Linked DNA regions of Homo sapiens: region 1 is linked to region 2. The links are contacts of gene promoters, found by promoter capture Hi-C in blood cells and fetal thymus (Javierre and others, 2016). All regions are on one chromosome and are shown on one strand. Each heading gives the region's core, a stretch centred on a gene start or on the middle of the fragment in contact. The rest is flanking DNA. Distances are from core to core; before and after follow the strand shown.

Evidence for each region. The method cuts DNA at HindIII sites, captures the fragments that hold promoters and counts their contacts. A CHiCAGO score of 5 or more calls a contact.
Region 1: a fragment that was not itself captured here is called in contact with the fragment with the promoter of KIFC3 in region 2 in 1 of 17 cell types (megakaryocytes); the score reaches 5.3 in megakaryocytes.

What each region holds. Positions count from the first base shown.
Region 1 is chr16:57,847,161-57,850,750 of GRCh38, forward strand. It overlaps a transcript of KIFC3 not described here. Among named protein-coding and RNA genes, the nearest start is that of KIFC3, 46 kb to the left of the region's middle. RefSeq lists an enhancer at 1-368. The HindIII fragment of the contact is 203 bases long and covers 1,756-1,958 here.
Region 2 is chr16:57,800,960-57,804,676 of GRCh38, forward strand. It overlaps KIFC3 (kinesin family member C3), which reads right to left and starts at 1,532. Exons shown (of 20, transcript NM_001130100.2): 1 at 1,411-1,532. RefSeq lists enhancers at 475-1,151, 1,829-2,505. The HindIII fragment of the contact is 12,094 bases long and covers 1-3,717 here.

The DNA of each region.
Region 1 (3,590 bases), core at 607-3,106, 47 kb after region 2:
GGTGACAGAGCAATGAATCTGTGAAGGAAGGAGGGAAGGAAGGAAGGAAGGAAGGAAGGAAGGAAGGAAGGAAGGAAGGAAGGAAGGAAGGAAGGAAGGAAGGAAGGAAGGGAAGGGAGGGAGGGAGAGAGGGCGGGGAGGGAGGGAGGGAGGGAGAGGTGGCTCACACCTGTAATCCCAGCACTTTGGGAGGCTGAGGTGGAAGGCTTGCTTGAGCCCAGGAGTTCGAGACCAGCCTGGGCAACACAGTAAAAATCCTGTGTCTATAAACAATAAAAAGTAATTTTGAAAAAATTGTAGGACATGCAGCTGGTGTCACAGAGAATTTATTGGTGTGGGGAAGAAACAACACACATTTGGTGTTAGGAGTGTTCCATGGATAGAAAAAGATTAGAGATTCCACAAATTGATTCTGTCAATTTGTGGAATTGACACAAACACACAGGGCTGCCCAATTTTCTGTTATAAGCAGGGGAGGGGAGTCCTGAAAGAGATTTGCAGATGATATAAATGCGTAAGAGAACATTGAGACTTTTCTTTCCCTTTGGCCTTATTGTTCAAGAATATATTTTTAGATTAAGTCCAGATGCCAGATGAATTTGTGTGTGTGTGTGTGTGTGTGTGTGTGTGTGTGTGTGTGTGTGAGACCGAGTCTCACTCTGTTGCCCAGGCTGGAATGCAGTGGCACAATCTCAGCTCGCTGCAACCTCTGCCTCCGAGATTCAAGCAATTCTTGTGCCTCAGCCTCCCAAGTAGCTGGGGACACAGGCGCACCCCACCACATCTGGCTAATTTTTGTATTTTTGATAGAGATGGGGTTTCACCATGTTGGCCAGGTGTGTCTTGAAATCCTGACCTCAAGTGATCCACCTGCCGCAGCCTTCTAAAGTACTGGCATTACAGGCGTGGGCCACCATGCTTGGCCTGGATGCCAGAAGAGTTATTTGCAAAACAATTTTTAAATACTTTTAAATACTTTGTAAAGAAGCCAAAGTTTTATTGTTGTTATTTTCTGTCTAATGCCTTGAAGTTGCCATACATTTTGGAGATTCTATTAAAGCTATAAGCTCGTTTTGTTCAGATGAACATTCATTTGTTTTTATGATCAAGCAAACAGAGAGTGGTTTAACTGGCTTAAGAAGGACCACACAGAAAGCCGAAATTCAGGACCAGCATTGAGATGCCAGCATGGAGGCCCCGTGTGGTGGCTCATCCCAGAACTTTGGGAGGCCGAGGCAGGAGGATTGCTTGAGGTCAGGAGTTCCAGACCAGCCTGCACAGCATAGCCAGATCCCATCTCTACAAAAAATTCTAAAAATTAGCTGGGCGTTGTGGTGCATGCCTGTAGTCCTAGCTATTGGGAAGGCTGAATCCAGAGGATCCCTTGAGCCCATGAATTTGAGGCTGCAGTGAGCTGTGACTGAGCCACTGCCACTCCAGCCTGATAGACAGAATAAGACCTGTCTCAAAAAATTAAAATTAAAAGACGCCCATATGAAGCTAATCTCCGATTCTGTGTGCAGACTGCTAAAATGTCTCTCTTGCTAAAAGGAAGCCCTAAGAATGGCTACACAGGGTTTTTAACAAAAAGATTTAGCATGTCTTAGGACTTAATGCATGTGCCACCTTCAGGCAGCCATAACAAAAAACTAGAGGTTTTCTCTAAATAAATACATAAAAATAAGGAATTTAGATTCTCTGGCAACTGTGACCTTAAACTTTGTTTTCAAGGTGAAAAATATTCACATAAAATTAAGCTTTATGAGAACATTTCTATGATGATTTAATTTCTTCTCTCTTCCCCGGTTCCACTTAAACACTAATCCTAGAATCCTAAAACTGTTCTTCCTGTAGATGTCATGGTAAGTACCACACTTTTTCTGTGCTTTTCCATAAGCAGAGAACAATAGTAGCTGAGTGATCAGACAGTACAGAGATTAACAGAGGAGTTAGTAATAAGCTTTAGAGGTTTATATCTGTGGCTCTACTCGTCTAAATTTAAGCCTTTTTGGGGACAGAAACCCAGTTAACCAATTTAAGGCAACTACCATCACAGTTTCTTGATAATTGGTGATCTCAGTAGAAAGGGTACGTTGTAAATAAACAAAGCAATGAAACCCAGATTTCATTCATCAATGTATCCCCTACAGACCAGTTTAATGGAGATAAATTACCTTGTAGATAATGACAATGCAAACTTAACACACATCAGATCGATTGAGACAAACTGCTGTGTGTGTGTATCTGTGACGGCCTTTACTTTGTTATTACTGATTTAATTATTTTAAAACCCTTATTAAGTGCTCTGTGGGTTCATAGTGGCACTTCTCTAAAAATCTGAAAGTCAATATAGTCTTTTAAACTACAGAGTTGGTGCCCTTTGTCTTATGAAGGGAAGGAGAACGTAAACTCACTGCCTCTAGAAGATAGGGGTAGAGGTGTTTAGAAAATAGTTAATGGGGCCAGGTGTGGTGGCTGATGCCTGTAATTCCAGCACTTTGGGAGGCCGAGGCAGGCAGATCATCTGAGGTCTGGAGTTCAAGACCAGCCTGGCCAGCATGATAAAACCCCATCTCTACTAAAAATACAAAAATTAGCCGGGTGTGGTGGTGTGTGCCTGTAATCCCAGCTACTTGGGAGGCTGAGGCAGGAGAATCACTTGCACCTGGAATGTGGAGGTTGCAGTGAGCCGAGATCATGCCACTGCACTCCAGCCTGGGCAACAAGAGCAAAACTCCATCTCAACAACAACAAAAAATAGTTAATGGGCCGGGTGCAGAGGCTTCCACCTGTAATCCTAGTAATTTGGGAGGCTTGAGGGGAATCAGCCTCGAAAAGTAGGGGAATCACTTGAGGCCAGGAGTTTGAGGCTGTAGTGAGCTATAATCGTGCCATTACACTTCAGCCTGGGTGACAGAGCAAGACCCTTTCTCTAAAAAATAAATAGTAATAATAAAAGCCAGGTGTGGTGGCTCATGCCTATAATCTTAACACCTTGAGAGACTGAGGCGGGAGAATTGCTTGAGCCCAGAAGTTCCAGACCACCAGCCTGGGCAACATAGCGAGACCCTGTCTCTACAAAAAATTGAAAAATTAGCCGGGCATGGTGGCATGCACCTGTAGTCCCAGCTATTCAGGAGGCTGAGACAGGAGGATTGCTTGAGCCCAGGAATTTGAGGCTGCAGTGAGCCATGATTGAGCCACTGGACTCCAGCCTGGGGGAGAGAGTGAGACCCTGTCACACACAAACAAAATAATATAATACAATAATAATAATAATAAATAAAAATAAATTTTAAAAAGGGTTTTTTTTTTTTTTTTTTTTTTTTGAGATGGAGTCTCACTCACTCTTTTGCCCAGGCTGGAATGAAGTGGCCCTATCTCAGCTCACTAAAACCTCCATCCACCAGGTTCAAGCGATTCTCCTGCCTCAGCCTCCCAAATAGCTGGGATTACAGGCGCCTGCCACCATGCCCGGCTAATTTTTGTATTTTTAGTACAGATGGGGTCTTGCCATGTTGGCCAGGCTGGTCTCGAACTCCCGACCTCAGGTGACCCACCCGCCTCGGCCTCCCAAAGTGCTAGTATTA
Region 2 (3,717 bases), core at 282-2,781:
ATTACTTTGCCTCTCCGTACTTCATTATCTCCATCTATAAAATGGGGAGAACACCACCTTATAGGGTTGCTCTAAAGATTAGACAAGGCCAAGTGTTCAGAACAATACTGGCATATACAAAGAGCTCCAAAATTTTATTTTTCAGTTACTTTGCTCCAGTGGTGGGTGAATGCAGAGGGCCTGGCTGGGGAAGAGGGTCTCTGCCTCTCTGGGTTTAGACCAGGACAGCAGAGCTGCAATACTCCCCCTGCCCTAGATCAGGGACATTGCAAAGACTGGGGGGACAGGCTGGACAGCTGCTCAGAGACTGCAGCAAGCAGGGCTTGGTCGCCCTGGGAGAGCAGGCAGAAGGTCAAGGAAGTTGTACAGGGAATGCCACCTCCCTGCACACCATCATCTATCCTGGGCTTTCCAGGGCAACCTAGATTTCAAACCCTCTGCTCCCTGGTGCCCCTGTGAACAGCAGAACTCACCACCCTGTGCCCCTAAAGTCCACTCACTGCAAATGCAGGGCCCCATTCTGAGACTGCATTCCTAGCAAATGACTCTCCCTGGTCAAGGAGACGGCTACTCTAACAAGGGCATGGGGAATACACGTCTGGGAAAGAATGGGTGCTCACCCTGTTCAGGCAGAGGAAAAGCCGGGGAAGGTGAAAGACCAGGGGTGGCCACAACCCGCAATCTTGAGACAGTGTTGGGGTATGGAGGTGGGGGCTGGGTGGCAGTAAATGGTACTCCAGAATTTAATTAAACACAGCTTCCTCTTTAATATCTCCCAGGACCAGGCCCTTCACTGCACCAGCCAGAGTTCTGCTCTAACTAGCAATGCTGGGCTTAAAGGGGTGGTCCTGGGATCGCCCTCCCTGCTGAGACCCTCACAACTGCTGCGGCTGTCAATGGCCCGATTCCTCACTGCCCGGAGGGCACCGGCCAAGGCCCTTCTTCCTAACCTCTGGGCGGGCGCACCCCGCCCCAGGCCCTGCCAGGGAAAAAGCGAACTCCCCAAGGGACGTGGTGGGAGGGACCCAAAGGCAGCCTTCCAGGGAGCCCTGGGGGTGGGGAAGACGCCAGGAAGGGGAGAGGGCGGCGCCGATTGACAAGCCCATCCCGGGTAGGGTCTGCGCTCTTCTCGTTCAATAAAATCCAAACGGGGTCCCGAGGCTGCTCGGATCCCGTGGGACACGCCGCCCCTGTGCCCAGCTCCCAGCAAGGTCCTCGACTCGGGCTGAACGGCGCTGGAGGGGACCTCGCAGGGCTGGGTCTCCCGGGCCTTTCCCTCCCCGCGCCCATAGCGGGTCCGGGCAGAGGGGTCCCGAGGGCAGGGCCGGCCCGGACGCGGCGCCCCAAACGGCGGGCCGGGCAGAGCCCAGCGCCCCGCTCGCACCCAGCCCGCCCGGGCCCCCCACTCACCGGCCTGGCGGAGGCAGGATCCAGGCGTCGCCGCAGCGCCCGGGGCTCGGCCCGGCCCGGCCCGCCGGCAGGAGGCAGCTCCACGCCGCCGCCTCCTCCTCGGCCAGCCCGCTCGCGCCCCTCCCGCACACTTTCCACAGGAAATGATTAACTCGGGCCGCGGCGCGTTCCCATGGCAACCGGCTCCGACCCCGGCGGGGGGCGGCGGCGCGCGCCCGCACTCACGCGCACTGGCGCGCACGCGTCAGCCCGGGCGCGCCCCCGCAGGTCTCCCGCCGGCACTCCCACTCCCACTCCCACTCCTTCGCGGGGCCTCCCACTCGGTCTCTCCCGCCTCCCCGCGTCCCGCACTCGCACTGGCACACGTGCTCATGCGTTCCCTGAAGGCTCTCACAAAACAGGCCTGCACACGGGCTGGCACACACGAGGCAGCCCACACAGCCCCACACCTGGTGAGCCATGCGTACTTTTGCACAGCCTCAAACCCGAGTGCAAAACTTCCACGCGAGTACTCACACATACACTTCTCACGCGGGCTCTCATACCAGTACGTGTCTTCCCATCCCAACACACACACAAGCTCTTACTCACGAGACAATACATGTACATCCCTTACCGTGTCCTTGCACGCGCTGGCGCACATGCACTCACACTGTTTACAGCGCACACGCTCTCACTCGCTCCACCACCTACTCGCTGGCCAGGCCGCCTTCTAGCCACAGCACTTCCTACCTCTGCACCCCCAGCCCCACCCCAGCAAATGAATATCTTCCCAGCAAGGAAGCTGCCTGGAGTCCCTTAAGGTAAAACACACCAATGGTGCAGCAGTTCCCGGCCTTGCTGCAGAAGGCCCTGCTACTGGGGCACCTAGAGCCTCAGAAGAGGCCTGGGGGAGGCCAGGGGCCTGCCAGCCGGGAGAGACAGCTGACCTGGAGGAGCCACTCTGTTCTTTGTCTCCCAAACAGAGGCAGCATTTTATTCCAGAGCCAGCAGCAATATTCTCCCTCACTCTCCACACCCCCGGGTGCGGAAGAGGAGAAAGCAAGTCACTCTGAAGCCAGCCCATGCAGGCTGACGGTTCTGCAGATAATCCCAGGAGGGCGGGTACTCTGTCCCTTCCTGCTTGTCAGGGGATGGCCCAAGAAGATCAAGGAGAGGACTGGAGGGGGTCGGGCAACTCCAGGTGGGTTCTATCTCCTGCTGCCGCCCAGGCGCTGGGCTGCCAGTCAAGAATCTCGACCAGCGACGGAGCCAAGGGCCTGGGCCTCAGATTGTTCTGGACGCCAGAGCAGGACAGTCACAGTCCCCCAGCTGGAAGCAGCCTAGTGCATGCTTTATTTGACAACTGAGATTCCTCAGTGAAGGCCTGATAGAGGGTGAATGTAACGCTCCTGGAATCATTCCCTAGAGAGTTAGATTTCCAGCTGAACACCACACTGGAGAACCCTTCCAATGGGAGAGAAAGCCTTATTTGGGGAGTTATGATCTCTGAATTCCTCTGCCTGCCCTCCAAACAGCAGTGATCCAGGGGACCGCAAGGGTGGATGAAGGCAAAATGTCTCTAGAATTCTGATTTAGTATCTATCTCCCTTGATTATAGTCCCTATGAGTTGATGGGGCGGGGGATGGGGAGGACAGAATGTCTTTAAAGTCCTGGTTCAAAACTGGAGACTTTTTCTTACTCAGGGATTGAGTACATTGACATTAACTGTAGGTCCTTCCCACCAAAGCCAAAGCCAGATTTTTAAATTAATAATAACATTTATTGTTCTTTTGCTTTGATTACAAAAGTAATAGATGTTCATTGTAACCATATCCCACACACTGGAGATAAATGCTGCCAACACTTTAGAAGTCTTTTTTTTTCCTGTGTACATAATAGATGCCATTATTGAAGCTAACACTGTGTCAGGCACAGCACTAAGCTCTTTATAAACAAAATCCCATTTAACCCTGAACACCCTATGAACACCAGTACTGTTTCAGGACACCCGTGTTTCAGGAAAGGAAACTGAGCCTCAGAAAGTTTGTTCACAAATGCAGTGTGTGATAGAGCTATGACTCCAATAGGTACTCACACAGTACTATCAGATGCATATGGGTATAACAACTTATTAAGATCAAAGCACCAGCGAAGGAAAAAGGAAATTGAAGTGTAAGGAGGTTGTATTTTTGGAATTCTAGCAAAACTCCGATTTGAAACGTAAAAACTACTTGTTTCATGGTTGTTGCATTTTTGAGACAAGATCTTGATCTGTTGCCCAGGCTGGAGTGCAGTGATGCAATCATAGCTCACTATAGCCCCGA